Linked DNA regions of Homo sapiens: regions 2, 3, 4 and 5 are each linked to region 1. The links are contacts of gene promoters, found by promoter capture Hi-C in human tissues and cell types (Jung and others, 2019). All regions are on one chromosome and are shown on one strand. Each heading gives the region's core, a stretch centred on a gene start or on the middle of the fragment in contact. The rest is flanking DNA. Distances are from core to core; before and after follow the strand shown. Region 1 holds the start of SNAI3 (snail family transcriptional repressor 3). Region 2 overlaps ZCCHC14 (zinc finger CCHC-type containing 14). Region 3 overlaps TCF25 (TCF25 ribosome quality control complex subunit). Region 4 holds the start of FANCA (FA complementation group A). Region 5 overlaps FANCA (FA complementation group A).

Evidence for each region. Contacts are between HindIII fragments. The study calls those that stand out against the background at their distance.
Region 2: a contact is called between a fragment that was not itself captured here and the fragment with the promoter of SNAI3 in region 1, in 1 of the 25 tissues and cell types used here (aorta).
Region 3: a fragment that was not itself captured here is called in contact with the fragment with the promoter of SNAI3 in region 1 in 1 of the 25 tissues and cell types used here (adrenal gland).
Region 4: a contact is called between the fragment with the promoter of FANCA here and the fragment with the promoter of SNAI3 in region 1, in 3 of the 25 tissues and cell types used here (lymphoblastoid cells, pancreas and spleen).
Region 5: a fragment that was not itself captured here is called in contact with the fragment with the promoter of SNAI3 in region 1 in 1 of the 25 tissues and cell types used here (spleen).

Annotation. Positions count from the first base shown.
Region 1 is chr16:88,685,183-88,687,978 of GRCh38, reverse strand. SNAI3 (snail family transcriptional repressor 3) reads left to right here and starts at 1,472. Exons shown (of 3, transcript NM_178310.4): 1 at 1,472-1,648. The coding sequence starts at 1,573. It overlaps SNAI3-AS1 (SNAI3 antisense RNA 1), which reads right to left. Exons shown (of 4, transcript NR_024399.1): 4 at 793-1,188. RefSeq lists silencers at 1,192-1,651, 1,702-1,861. The HindIII fragment of the contact is 11,241 bases long and covers 1-2,796 here.
Region 2 is chr16:87,469,122-87,471,917 of GRCh38, reverse strand. All of the region lies in intron 1 of ZCCHC14 (zinc finger CCHC-type containing 14), which reads left to right. Among named protein-coding and RNA genes, the nearest start is that of ZCCHC14, 23 kb to the left of the region's middle. RefSeq lists enhancers at 1-816, 1,502-2,086, 2,087-2,672. The HindIII fragment of the contact is 5,698 bases long and covers 1-2,796 here.
Region 3 is chr16:89,881,955-89,884,750 of GRCh38, reverse strand. TCF25 (TCF25 ribosome quality control complex subunit) reads right to left here. Exons shown (of 18, transcript NM_014972.3): 2 at 1,239-1,400; 3 at 95-169. Among named protein-coding and RNA genes, the nearest start is that of TCF25, 9.8 kb to the right of the region's middle. RefSeq lists a cis regulatory region at 2,174 and an enhancer at 2,090-2,259. The HindIII fragment of the contact is 6,115 bases long and covers 1-2,796 here.
Region 4 is chr16:89,815,275-89,818,070 of GRCh38, reverse strand. It overlaps FANCA (FA complementation group A), which reads left to right and starts at 1,424. Exons shown (of 43, transcript NM_000135.4): 1 at 1,424-1,534; 2 at 2,085-2,194. The coding sequence starts at 1,456. RefSeq lists enhancers at 761-810, 1,196-1,490 and silencers at 1,351-1,640, 1,871-1,920. The HindIII fragment of the contact is 15,845 bases long and covers 1-2,796 here.
Region 5 is chr16:89,745,293-89,748,088 of GRCh38, reverse strand. It overlaps FANCA (FA complementation group A), which reads left to right. Exons shown (of 43, transcript NM_000135.4): 34 at 1,199-1,258; 35 at 1,401-1,505. Among named protein-coding and RNA genes, the nearest start is that of ZNF276, 25 kb to the right of the region's middle. RefSeq lists an enhancer at 1,219-1,388. The HindIII fragment of the contact is 8,916 bases long and covers 1-2,796 here.

The DNA.
Region 1 (2,796 bases), core at 223-2,722:
ACTGTGTCCTAACCTCTCACAGCCTTGGTCTTCTTTTTTGTTTTTTTTTAATTTTTTGAGACAGGGTCTTGCTCTGTTGTCCAGACTGGAGTGCAGTGGGGTCATCATAGCTCACAGCAGCCTCCACCTCCTGGAGGCTACTGCAACAAGCAATCCTCCCTCCTCAGCGTCCTGAGTAGCTGGGACTGAAGATGGGTGTTGCCACGCCTGGCTAATTAAAATAATTTTTTTTTTTTTTTTTGTAGAGACGGGGTCTCATGTTGTTTTTCAGGCTGGTCTCAAACTCCTGGGCTCAAGCAGTCCTCTTGTCTCAGCCTCCCACAGTGCTGGGATTACAGGCGTGAGCTGCTGAGCCCAGACTCACAGCCTAGTTTTTTTTCATTGGCAAAGTGGGGCTGATACTAGCCCAGCTTTTCACACCCTGGACGTGTGATGTGGGACGTGGGATGCTGGTGTGGCACGGCCCTCCTCCCTGCTGTCTGTCCCTCAGAGCTTCCATGGACTCACCACCCCCCACCTTCTCCACCCCCGGCCCACAGGGGGCAAAGGCCACCCAGCTCTGAGGTGGAAGCCCTGCTGGGGAGGCAGGCCGGCGGCACAGCCAGGGACACCCTGTGTGCACGCCAGCCCAGAGACGGCCCCACCTGGCCCCCAACGTTATGAAATGTCCATGTCAAAAGAGACCCAGACACTGGACACAGCGGCTCCCAGCTTTTTATGACCCTGAGGGCTCTACAGGACCACAAAGGAGGGAAACGGATTGCCCAGGTCACACGTGCAGCTGTTGCAGAATTCACGTGATTCACCGGTTTTATTAAACTTCCCATAACCATGTCTGACCCCCTGGGAATTCCAGAATTCCAGGCCAAGTCCTCCGTCCCCCAAAAAACAGCTTTCTGGAGGCACTGGACAAACTCCTAAAGGGCTGACTCCAGTGGGGGAAGCCTTCGGAGACTGCAGCCCATCCAGAAAGGACCACTGTCTCCAGGCCACCGGTCCCGGGCCTGTTCCAGAGCCGCCAGTAGGGCTGGTCACTAGGGTCAGCTTCGTTTCGCCTGGGCTCTCCCCATCAATCCTGTCCTGTGAGTTTGCAGAAGGGATGGGGAGGCGAGGCCAGGCCGCAGAGTGAGCGTCATTCTCCGCAGCAAGGGTTCTCCAAGGACCGCGCTCGGCCGACGCTTCCACATTCTGTGGAAGAGATTCTCGCTCGGTTTCCACACAGCTTTGAACTCTGCCCTTCACTCACGGCGAGTGGGTGGCCAGGCCCGACGGGTCGGTGTGTGACTCGGCGGCGCGCACGCCAGAGAATTCCCGTGGGGAGGACACCGGCGGCCACGCGCTCCCCGCCCCGTCCCGCCCGCGCACCTGTCCTGGGCGTGTTGCCCGAGACCCCGCCTCGCCCTCAGTTCCGCCCCCGTGGCCCCGCCCCACTCGCGCCGGGCGCTGGTTGGCGGAGGCGGCGCGCTATGCTAATGAGCCTGACCCCTTCAAGCGCCGGCGGACGCAGCAGTCCGGACCCAGGCGCGCCCCTCCCGCCCCAGCCCACCCCGGCCTGCCGCCCGGGAGGGGAACATGCCGCGCTCCTTCCTGGTGAAAACGCACTCCAGCCACAGGGTCCCCAACTACCGGCGGCTGGAGACGCAGAGAGGTACTGACTACCCGATCCCCGAGCCCCTGCCGGGACTCGACCCTGAGGGGCGGGAGAGAGAGAGAGGCCCCTGGGAGCGGGGGCTGGGGAGACACCTGTCCCAGGTGGGAGGAGAAGGAGCCAGCGCCTCTGCGCAGCGGCTGCGGCTGCAGGGAGGGAGGTGGCCCACGGGCGCCTCCACTTCAGGGCACTGAGCCCCGCCTCCGGCAGGGCGGGCGGGATTCTCTCCCAACTTGGAGAAGTTTTCTAAGTTTTCTAAGCCCCCAAGTCTCCCTGGAACTCACCCCTGATATACAGCCGCCCGTCCCAACCACTACAGCCCCAGCTAAAGGCACCCTGGAGTCATCTTCCTGGCGCACACGTTTGGGAGGGGTCGCGGGGTGGTGGGTGGGAGGGAAGGAGGGCCGTCTGGGGCGGCCCGGCTCAGGGACCCCCGGAGCATGCTGACTGGGGGTGTAAGCACAGGGGATGGTGAGAAGGACACATGGGCTCTTTCTGGTGCAAAGGCACTGCCCCTCCTGCATTCAGTTCAGGTGAGCCTCCGCCCGTGGTCTCCCTCCCTCCCCCACCTCCCTTCACCCCAGAAGCCCTCCTGCTCACCCCGGCAGGCTTGCCTGGGCAGGCTGGGCTAAAGGGCTGCAATCCTCCACACACCGGCTAGGCTGGGGAGATGGGTGCCCAGCAACCGGGCTGCCCGTTCATTCCCACTGCCTGCTAGGCTTAGGGACACGAGAGAAGAGGACTCTGTCCTTCAGAGGACAGCCTGCCACACGGGCGGTGAGAGCAGTCCCCACCTGGCTTGGCAGCTTCTTGGGACAAAGGCCCACTGAGGGGCGCCGGCGGACGCGGTGGTCGGGACTCACGCTCTGTGGCCGGTGGGGGAGAGCAGGAAGGGCGCTGTTGGGGCTGTGGCCCCCAGCAACACCGCCAAGAGGCCTTTATCCCAGCTCAGAACCCAGAGTTGGGGATGGGGGGGATCCCACCTGGACCCACACCCGAGGCCCGGGCTGCCACCAGGGGGTGCCAGCTAGGACCATGCTTTTCAAATGTGCATTTTGAAATCAGTTTCATCAGTCACCCCCAGCAATTTTGTAAAATAAAATAGAGCAGAAACTGCCGGAGTGCCTGGCTCATGGTGAAGGACACTG
Region 2 (2,796 bases), core at 136-2,635, 1.2 Mb after region 1:
GGACAGGAGGGCAAGGAGGGGCTAGGAAGGCAGAAATGAGTTGTTGCTCATGAGTACAAGCAAGATGCTGGTGTTCTCTCTGAAGTCAATACATCCGTTAAGATGCCCTTTGAACCCTGTTTTATGGGATTACAGGACTAGGAAGTATGTCTTTAGCCTCCCTAGGGCTCTCGACTTTAGACTCCCTCTGTTTCTACAGGCAGTGTCTGGAACAGGGATTCTGGGTGTGTTGGAGGCTGACTGTAGGGAAGCCCTACCCCAGAGGTCCCATGTGGTTGGCCCCTGGTGGGATGTCTTGGCACCTGGAGGCCTGGAAGCCCCCGCGGGTGGGCAGTTGGGGCCGGTGTTCCTAGAGGAGGCCGTGCTGCCCTGTGGCTATTTGTGAAAGAGATTTGCATCTGGTCACTCTGGGAGCTGGTCTAGTTAAGTACTGGGTTCCCTTTGCTGAGATTTTAAGCAGTAATCTTTTTTCTCTCTTTCTCTTTTTGATGAGTAGAGCTCTAGGTTAAGAAATATTAAAAGGAATGTTTTTACATGGAAAATGTTTTTTTGGTTAGCGTTGGCTTTCACTTGGTCTAAGTCAGCAAATAGCTTTCACTCTTAAACTGTCTGTCTTCTTGTTCTGGTTTTTAGAGACACGTAATGACTATTTTAGCAAAATGCTTACAAATCTATTTTGTTTTTATGTTTTATGTTTTTTACGTTAACTTAAAAGTATTTAACAGACGTTACTCCTTCCTGTATAGAGGTAGGTTAATTGGAAAACAAATTGAAAACACTATTTTTTCATAGTCATGTTTACTGTATTTTGTTTGTGGGGGTAGACACTTTGAAGTTCATGTTAACCCCTGATGTGCCCGGCCCTCGAGATATGTGTGGAAGGAAAGTGTGGTTATGGTTTTAGAAGCTTGCTTTTTCTATACTTTTCATATCATTCACATCTTGTAGGGAGGTATTTATATTTAGACTTAATATCTGTAACTTTTTTAAATTCTAGAAGTAGTGATTGTTCCTCACAGAAAAATTGGAAAACAGAAAAATAAAATAAAAATTACCCAGAGATAAATGCTAGTAATATTTCGGTGTACCTTTGTCTTTTCTCAGTGCCTGTTTGCACACAACTGATGTACGTTCTGCCCATTTTCACATTATCTGTGAGCATCCTGCATGCCTTTTAAGACTGCATAATATTCAGTCATCTGGACATACACATTTAGCGACCTATTTCAATAGTAATCTGTTGCTGGGATGTTTATGTTGTTTGTTTTTCTTTTTGCTCAAGCTGAGATAAATCTCCTTACACACAAACCTTTGACTACATCGCTGATTGACTGTATCCTAACAGCAGACTCCTCCCAGTGGGATTAGTGGGTGAAAAGCTACAGATGGGAAAAAAGCTCATCACATCCTGCCTCCTTGCTGTCCAGACAGTGGCCCCAGGTTACACTCAGCTGAGGACGAGGCCACCCCCTGCAGCTTTATGAGCATTTGACTCCTGAGAACATTTTAACTGTAGTCCAAGTAATTAAATAATTATTCAAGCTGTCATGTGCTTGTTTTCATTATTTATTTATTTATTTATTTATTTGAGTTGGGGTGTCGTGCTGTCTCCCAGGTTGGAGTGCGGTGATGCAATCATAGCTCATTGCAGCCTCAACTTCCCAGGTTCAAGCGATCCCCCCACCTCAGCCTCCTGAGCAGCTAGGTACAGGCACACACCACCACACTCGGGTAATTTCTAAATTGTGGTAGAGATGTAGTCTCACTATGTTGCCCAGGCTGGTCTTGAACTCCTGACCTCAGGAGTTCCACCTGTCTAAGCCTCCCAAAGTGCTGGGATTACAGGTGTGAACCACTGCTCCTGGCCCCAGGCTGGTTTTGAACTACTGGGCTCAAGCGATCCTCCTGCCTCAGCCCCCCAAAGTGCTGGGATTGCAGGCGTGAGCCACTGTGCCTGGCAAGTGCACTGGTTTTAGAACAGACGATCACATGTCGTGGTAAAGTCTCTACTTGAGAAGATAGGCCCTGGCCCCCAGTGCAGGGAACACGGAGCTGGGGTGGCTGTGGGTGGCTCTGTCCTCATCCCCAGTGCTTCTGGGGGTGTGCTGCCCACAGGGGTGCAGCAGATGCTGTAGACACAGGGAGCCCTGCCTTCCGGGAGGCCCAGTTGCCGGTGCCCCTCCTGGATCCTCCCAGAGCTCCGAGTCTCTGTGACAGCACTGAAGCAATTTAATTGTCCTCCAGCCACACCGCAAGCACCACAATAATAACAGCAACTAACATTTTGAATGCTAACATTTTTCCAGTTCACAGTACTAGAAATGCATTTTACTGAATTCTCACAAAAGCCTTAGGTAGGTGCCATTATTTCCATCCCATAGTGGACGAAACAGGGGCTGCCCTGTGTGGACCCAGCACTGGCCGCCGAGACGGCTCCTGACCGCTGTGCTCCGCTCGCCTCCTTGGATTTAATGTGCACAAATCACAGACCTCTGTAGTTACAGGACCTAAAGTCTGCACTTGATTCTGCTCCCTACTGGCCAGATGACCTTGGGGAAGGCATTTAGGAACTGACATTCAGTTTTTCTTGTTTTTAACATGGAGATAATTTGATCTGTGTACGTCACGTACTGCAGGGATCAGATGGATGATCTCATATGGCTGCATAATGGATACTTGGGAAGAACTGTACAAAAGGTGGTTATAGCCGGGTGCATTGTCTCATGCCTGTGGTCCCAGCTACTCGGGAGGCTGAGGCAGGAGGATGACTTGAGCCTGGCAATTTGAGACCAGCCT
Region 3 (2,796 bases), core at 179-2,678, 1.2 Mb before region 1:
GGGAGAGGGCGTCAGGCAGAGGGAGAGGGCGTCAGGCAGAGGGAGAGGGGCGTCAGGCAGAGGGACAGAGCACAGCCAGGCCCAACTCACGTACCGATGCTTCTCCCGTGCTGCTTTTCTTGTTTTTCTGTTTTTTTTTCTTCTTCCGGAGTTTGCCACTTGCATGAGACTAATGATAGAAACACATTTTCATCAGTAGAATGAGAAGTAAATCTTAAGAAGTGAGAATTAAAGCAGCAAGCGTGACTCCACCCTCACCTAAGCAGCCCCTACCTCTCCCTCCGTGTCCCAAAAGTTCCTTCAACTCACTCTCTTCTCTCCAGCAGGCACCTTCCCACCTCTCCGAGCCCCTCGGGCTGTGCTACAGCAGTCCCCAGGGCCTTCTGTGTCCAGCCTCACAGGCTCACAGGACCCTGACCAGGTCCAGCTCTCATTCCTCCCTGTGTCGGCCACTCCCTGCCACACTGCAGCCACCCTGAAGACGGGGGCCTTGCTGTGCCCTGGCCGCCTCACACCGCACCTGTATGTGTGGTCCCCTACGCCTGCACCTGGCCAACCCCTTCTGACAGTAGGAAGGCTCCTCAGGAAGCCCCCAGGACCCTGAGCCTCAAGTCAGGACCCACCTGTCACTTCACATGTATGTTGCCCTCCCAACCAGAGGCTCCTGGGGGGCAAAGGCACGTTCCCAGCACCCAGCAAGCTCCCAAGAACACTTGTTGGATAAATGAACACAAGCTCTCCTTTTAGGGCCCCTCTTCTGTGCTGTGGAGCACAGCAGCAGGCTGTCTGCATCTCTGCCCATCCCACGTTAACCTGACCTGCATGTTTCTTCAAAGTTCACTTACACCAGCACCCAGATCCACAACCCAGCCAAGCAAACGTTCGGGGCACAGTTAGGAAGGACACACGTGCGCGGTCGGCTAGGAGGCACACACGTGCGCGGTCGGCTAGGAGGGACACACGTGCGCGGTTGGCTAGGAGGGACACACGTGTGCGGTTACATACACTGCTGGGCAGGCGCAGACTCTCCTGAGATGCAGGAGAAAGGCCTGCGACCTTCACTCATTTCATGCAAATCTCATCAAGGTTCCCAAGTAAATTTGGGGGCAACTAGCAGGTAACCAAAATGGAACTCGGAAAATTACACCTCCAAGGAAAATCACAGCACAGGATACACGTGGCTGGGTGCCTTGGAACTCTCCCGTCTGATGCCACCTCCTCACCACTCAGCCCCCCACCTGCTCTGAGGGCACTGTCTCGGTGTCATCTCCATCCGTCTTGCTCTCTGTGTTTCCACGCTGACCCCTTCCTTTGTTCCCTGGTGCCACAGCGTCTGTGAGCGCACAGCCAGACCTCTCCCCGTTCACCACAGGGTCATCCTCAAGATCGTCAATGTTTATCTGGAAAAACAGGTTGGAGAAGAGCCAGGGCGTTACTTACAGTGTGAACGCTCATGCTGAGATATGAATAGTGAGATGTGAACGGGCTTGCGTTGGGGACCCCCAGGGTCAGTGCGAGACGCTGGACGGGAAAGATGCAAGAACCCGAGACTGTTGGACACAGCAGTGACTCAGCTCTGGCTCAGGGGGACTTTGTCAGCAGCTCTACAGAAAGCCGGGGCCCCGAGGCTATGGGGTATCTCTGCCTTCAGAGATGAGGTAAGGAAGACTCCTCAAATATTGTAATTTACTCCATTTACAGAGGACCATCTGCAGGACAAAACGTTAAATATATATATTCAGCCAATGCATTAAAGTTCCTTCTTCCTCCTTTCTCCTCAAGCCTCAGCTCCTCTCCAGCAGCAGGCAGGAAAAAAAGGCACCAAGGACCCATCAACCTACAAACTTTTCCTAATGAAAATGATAGGCCAGGCGAGGTGCTCGCGCCTGTGATCCCAGCACTTTGGGAGGTTGATGCAGGCGGATCACTTGAGGTCAGGAGTTCAAGACCAGCCTGGCCAACATGGCGAAACCCTGTCTCTACTAAAAACACAAAAATTAGCCAGGCACAGTGGCAGGAGCCTGTAATCCCAGCTACTTGGGAGGCTGAAGTGGTATAATCGTTTGAACCCGGGAGGCAGAGGTTGCTGTGAGTCAAGATCGCACCACTACCCTCCAGCCTGGGCAACAGAGCAAGACTCCATCTCAAAATAGAAAAACAAAATGACATACGATAAAAATAATTCATACGATGAAACCTTCTCTCTCTCTTTTTGAGACAGAGTCTCGCTCTGTCATCCAGGCTGCAGTGCAGCAGTGTGATCTTGGCTCACTGCAGCCTTGGCCTCCTGGGTTCAAGCATCCTCCTGCCTCAGCCTCCCAAGTAGCTGGAACTACAGGCGTGAGCTACCATGCCTGGCTAATTTTTTAAATTTTTTTGTAGAGATGGGGGTCTCAACACATTGCCCAGGCTGGTCTTGAGCTCCTGACCTCAAGCGATCCTCCTGCCTCAGCCTCCCAAAGAGCTGGAGTTACAGGCGTGAGCCACCACGCCAAGTCTGGAACCTTTTTATAGCAGTGAGAATGAATGAATGAATGAACCACCACTGAACACACAATATGGATGAATCTTAGGAGTATAATATTAAATGGATAAAACCTCACAACATACATTCACATACAGATTGGAGGGGAGACAGGCAGTGGGAGAAGGGTAAGAACAGGAAAAGTTCTGGCTCCTCAGCTAGTGAGAGGCTGACCGGGCACGGTGGCGGTGCACCCCTGTAATCCCAGCACTTTGGGAGGCCGAGGTGGGTGGATCACGAGGTCAGCAATTCAAGACCAGCCTGACCAACAT
Region 4 (2,796 bases), core at 175-2,674, 1.1 Mb before region 1:
TCACAGTTAATTTAAATTTCCAGCCTGTTTCAATTTCTCGATCACCTCTGAGTCTAGTCCTGTTAATTGCTTAGTGTTATTTTTTGTTTTTGAAACAGGGTCTTGCTCTGTTGCCCAGGCTGGAGTGCAGCGGCGCGATCTCAGGCTGTTCCCTGAGTTCACACCATCCCCCTCAACCAGCAGATTGCAAAGTGTCCGAGTCGGGCCGTGCAGGAGTCTTTGTGGGGGTTTCATGGACTCCGAATTCTCATTTCTGCTCCATCCCCATCTCATGAATCCAAGGCCCCACTCTGTGCCTCGGCTCTTCGTTTGTGGTGCTGAACGTCATCTACGTCATCTACGCCATCTACGTAATCAACACAATAAAGACGCCTGCCGGGAACGCGGCCCTTCGGCTGAATCCCTTCGGTGGTTCCAAGGCCACTGCCAGAGGATGCGGACGGGTCTCCAGGGCCTCTACTTACCCAGGACTTTGAGGCACATTAGCTTCGCCTAGGCACTCGCTTTTACGAATTCTTATGTTTGGTTTTGTTTTGAGACAGAGTCTCGCTCTGCCGCCCAGGCTGGTTAAAAGATAGGGTCTCAGCCGGGTGCGGTGGCTCACGCCTGTAATCCCAGCACTTTGGGAGGCCGAGGCGGGCGGATCACCTGAGGTCCGGAGTTCGAGACTAGCCTGGGCCAACATGGCGAAACGCTGTCTCTACTAAAAATAACAAAAATCATCCAGGCGTGGTGGCGCGCACCTGCAATCCCAGCTACTCGGGAGGCTGAGGCAGGAGAATCACCTGAACCCAGGAGGCAGACGTTGCAGTGAGCCGAGATCGCGCCACTGCACTCCAGCCTGGGCGACAGAGGGAGACTCCGTCTCAAAAAAAGGAAAAAAAAAAAAAAGAAAAGAAACAAAAGTGATGGGGTCTCGCTCTGTTGCCCAGGCTAGTCTGGAATTCCTGGGCTCAAGCGACCCTCCAGCCTCGGCCTCCCAAAGCGCTGGGAATACAGGCGCGGCTACCGCGCGGTCTCCGGCTGCCGAAACACCGCCCTGCGCGCGGACCGTTCGGCCGCCGGGAGGAACAGCGGCTGCCCGGAGCTCAGAGGCGCGCGCGGCTTTGCGCTCCCCGCGGCGCTCTGAGCCTGCCTCGGCTTGGTTGGCCAGGTGGTCTCTTCAGGACCAACCCCAGTCATTCCCGGCAGGAACCACGCTTGAGGGGCGGCAGTCTGCCCGCGCGAGACGCCCCCGCGGACTACACCGCGGCGGCAAAGCCAAACGCAAAAACTACCTCACCGCGCGCAGGCGCCTCCCCCAGGACCAACATGGCCACGACGCAAGGCCTCGACCTGAGGGGCGTGGCCTGGCCGCCGCCAGCCAACGGGTGTGCGCGCCTGGCCGCAGCCAATAGGAAGGCAGCGCGGGCTCGGGCGCAGGGAGCCGCCGCCGGGGCTGTAGGCGCCAAGGCCATGTCCGACTCGTGGGTCCCGAACTCCGCCTCGGGCCAGGACCCAGGGGGCCGCCGGAGGGCCTGGGCCGAGCTGCTGGGTAGGTGGGCGCGGCAGGCCGCGGGAGTGGGCGGCGTCCGGCCCGGGACGGTTTCGCCGGTTCCCCGATCCCTTCCCGCCAGAGCCTCCGCCGGTCGGATCCCCGGACGCCGCGCCCGGGGGGCTGTGCGGGGTGGGCGCCCGGCTGGGGCGGCGCGGCTGCCTCGGACCCGGCCCCTCCTGCGCCTGGGCGGACGCCCCCAGCCGCCGCCCGCGGGGCGCTCCCTTCTTTCCCGAACGCCGCCCCCGCCGGCCGCCCTGTCAGGCGGGCCTGGGGTGCGCGGCCTGGGGCTCCCCTCAGCGCAGAGGCCGCCCCTCGCCAGCCGTCCCCGGGCTCCCCTGCCTCGGGCCCTCCTGGGCCGTCTTCCCCGGCGTCCGCGGTGGGGCCGTCTCCGTTAGTTTCCCGAGACCTGCGCCCTGGGGAGGAGCCCCGGCCCCTCTTCGGGAGGGTGTCGCTGGTGGGTTTCTCCGCGGCGTCCACCTGCGCGTCGGGCCGGGGACCCCGTGTGTGAATTGTGCTGTGATGGTTTCGAACCGACTTCTCTCCGTAGCGGGAAGGGTCAAGAGGGAAAAATATAATCCTGAAAGGGCACAGAAATTAAAGGAATCAGCTGTGCGCCTCCTGCGAAGCCATCAGGACCTGAATGCCCTTTTGCTTGAGGTAAGAGGAAGCTGGTGTCCGTCTGCGGGCAGATTTAGGTTCGGGGTTTTTGAGTCCAGCCACCGCACAGCTTTCCTAAGAAAACACCCGAGGCGGCGGGCGCGGTGGCCTGGCCCGCAGAGGGGAGGGTCGCCTGAGCCCGGGAGTTCTGGACCAACCTGGGCAACGGGGTGAGACCCCGCCTCTTTTATTAAAAACAAAACAACAACAACAAAAAAACAGGCCGGGCGCCGTGGCTCAGGGCTGTAATCCCAGCTTTTGGGGAGGCCAAGGCGGGTGGATCACTCAGGGTCAGGAGTTCGAGACCAGCCTGGCCAACATAGTGAAACCCGGTCTCTACTGAAAATACAAAAATTAGCTGGGTGTGGTGGCGCACGCCTTTAATCCCAGCTACTCGGGAGCCTGAGGCAGGAGAATTGCTTGAACCTGGACCCGGGAGGCAGAAATTGCAGTGAGCCGAGATCACGCCCCTTGCAATCCAGTCTGGATTACAGAGTGAGACTGTCTCACAAAAAAAAAAAAAAAAAAAAAAAAAAAAAAAGCCGGGCGTGGTGGCTCACGCCTGTAATCCTAGCCCTTTGGGAGGCCGAAGTGGGTAGATC
Region 5 (2,796 bases), core at 110-2,609, 1.1 Mb before region 1:
AATAGAAAAATTAGCTGGGTATGGTGGTGCACGCCTGTACTCCCACCTACTTGAGAGGCTGGGTCAGGAGGAGTAATTGAGCCCAGGAGGCAGAGTTGCACTGAGCCAAGATCCCACCACTACACTCCAGCCTGGGTGACAGAGCGAAACTCTTGTCTCAAATAAAAAGAAGTGACACTCGCTGTGGGGACGGGCAGCGTAGGGACCCAGTTGGTCAGAGCTGGGGAGACGGATACCAGCCCCTCCCACTCTACAGAGAGCAGCTTCTGCTCCCGAAGGCCTTTTTCTTGTTTTTGAAGATGCACAAATGTGAGAGATGGAATTCAGGTTCCATGCCAGCTGTGCAGCATTTTATATTTTTATTTATTTATTTATTTATTTATTTTTTGAGACAGAGTCTTGCTCTGTCGCCCAGGCTGGAGTGCAGCAGTGAAATCTTGGCTCACCCTGCAACCTCCGCCTCCCAGGTTCAAGCGATTCTCCTGCCTCAGCCTCCTGAGTAGCTGGGACTACAGGTGCCTGCCGCCATGACCGGCTAAGTTTTGTATTTTTAGTAGAGATGACGTTTTACCATGTTGGTCAGTCTGGTCTTGAACTCCTGACCTCGTGATCCACCCGCCTTGGCCTCCCAAAGTGCTGGGATTACAGGTGTGAGCCCGGCCTTGTGCAGCACTTCAAAATGTGACAAGGAAAGCAGAGGACGTGAGACTAGCAAAAGCTTTCAGAAAATCACTATGGTCTCCTTTGAATTCTTATGAATGGCTGTTTTTCAGAAAGCTCTCAGTTGGCACGTGACAGCCGACAGACAGGAAAACACCATAGACAGCACTTGGTTAGTGAAGGGACCAGAGGATGGTTGGCCCTTGGTATTAGTGTCGTCCTCACCACAGTTCTACGCTCCGGGTGCGTCCCCTTCCCTGCGGCTGCTTGTGCCTCCCTGGCTTCTTCCTGGAGCCTACAAGACTGTTTGGGCCAGAGCTGGTGGGCTGCAGGATCTGGCCGCCCAGGGAAGCCGTTAAGTTTCAGGACAGCACAGCCAGGGCGCCAGGCCCGGTCAGCCCAGGAGCACCATCCATGGTGGCCACGCCAAGCCTTAGCGAGTGTTTTTCTCAAAACTGAATCCACAGCAGCCACTCTGCATGTTGGTCTCGCCTCTCTTCCTGTGGGCTTTTCTTACCTGCCTTGAACTCTTTTGCAGAGAAACTTCTGCTCCCACGGAGGTGCCCTGACACAGGACATCACTGCCCACTTCTTCAGGGTGAGATGCTCCCTCAGCCCCTCTCGTGGCCTTCTCAGAACGCCGTGGGTGGATCCTCCTGTCAGCTTCCTGTGAGTTCCTTCACTCTACTAGTTGTGGGTCCTCACAAACCGCTGACCTCCTGCTGCGTTCTCTCCTGCAGGGCCTCCTGAACGCCTGTCTGCGGAGCAGAGACCCCTCCCTGATGGTCGACTTCATACTGGCCAAGTGCCAGACGAAATGCCCCTTAATTTTGACCTCTGCTCTGGTGGGTCAGCTGTCTTGTTTGGTGTTTTGTTTTGGGGATGAGTGGGAGACTCCACAGCTGCCTCTGGCATCTCTGCAGCACGTCTCCATCACGGGTGTTACCATCTCAGGGAAAATGCATCAGGAGACATGGAAGCCACAGTTAAAGATGCCAGCTCATAGCAGATGAGGGCCGCACATCCTGAGTTCCCAGAACCGTCCCTGCCCCCACCGCCGTCACCATGGCACCCGCAGGACTTCTCCCCTGTGGACCCCACTCAGACCCCACGGGCACCTTCATGTCCACAGGGGTGCAGGGCTTGTTTGTTCACGGTCTTGGGTTGTGCACTGGCTGGAGGCTGTACGGTGGCTGCCTGTGCCCCGTCACGAGAGCATGACTGTGGCCCACTTGCGCCTGACTATGCTTTCTTGGGACTTCGGAGCAGAGACTTCACCTCAGCTCCCGCCAGAGCTCAGCAGGCTCCCCTAGCAGCCCAGGGTCCCGAGAGTGGGAGGAGGGCAGCATTTCCCTCACTTCCCTGGCGGCTCACTTAGTCCTGAAGACCACAGCTGTCGCCCTTCCTTCTCGGTCATCAGGGACAGGAGGGCCTTTTTCTCCGCAGCACGGCATGTTCCCCAGGGAGCTCCCCAAGCAGGCTGCATTTGCACCGAGTTGTAGCTCAGTTGGTGGAATTCGTGAGAAATGAACTCTTCGGTGTTTAGAACGCCACCTCTCAGCTGAGGGCATCCAAGGACCAGGCATTCCCAGCTCAGGGCAGTGTGGTCTCTTCACTGTTTCGTTCCCAGCTCAGAGGAGTGTGGTCCCTTCACTGTTTCGTTCCCAGCTCAGGGCAGTGTGGTCCCTTCACTGTTTTGTTCCCAGCTCAGAGGAGTGTGGTCCCTTCACTGTTTTGTTCCCAGCTCAGGGCAGTGTGGTCCCTTCACTGTTTTGTTCCCAGCTCAGAGGAGTGTGGTCCCTTCACTGTTTCGTTCCCAGCTCAGGGCAGTGTGGTCCCTTCACTGTTTTGTTCCCAGCTCAGAGGAGTGTGGTCCCTTCACTGTTTCGTTCCCAGCTCAGGGCAGTGTGGTCCCTTCACTGTTTCGTTCCCAGCTCAGAGGAGTGTGGTCCCTTCACTGTTTTGTTCCCAGCTCAGAGGAGTGTGGTCCCTTCACTGTTTTGTTCCCAGCTCAGAGGAGTGTGGTCCCTTCACTGTTTCATTCCCAGCTCAGGGGACTGTGGTCCCTTCACTGTTTCGTTCCCAGCTCAGGGGAGTGTGGTCCCTTCACTGTTGCGTTAGGCCAGGCTCTTCCTT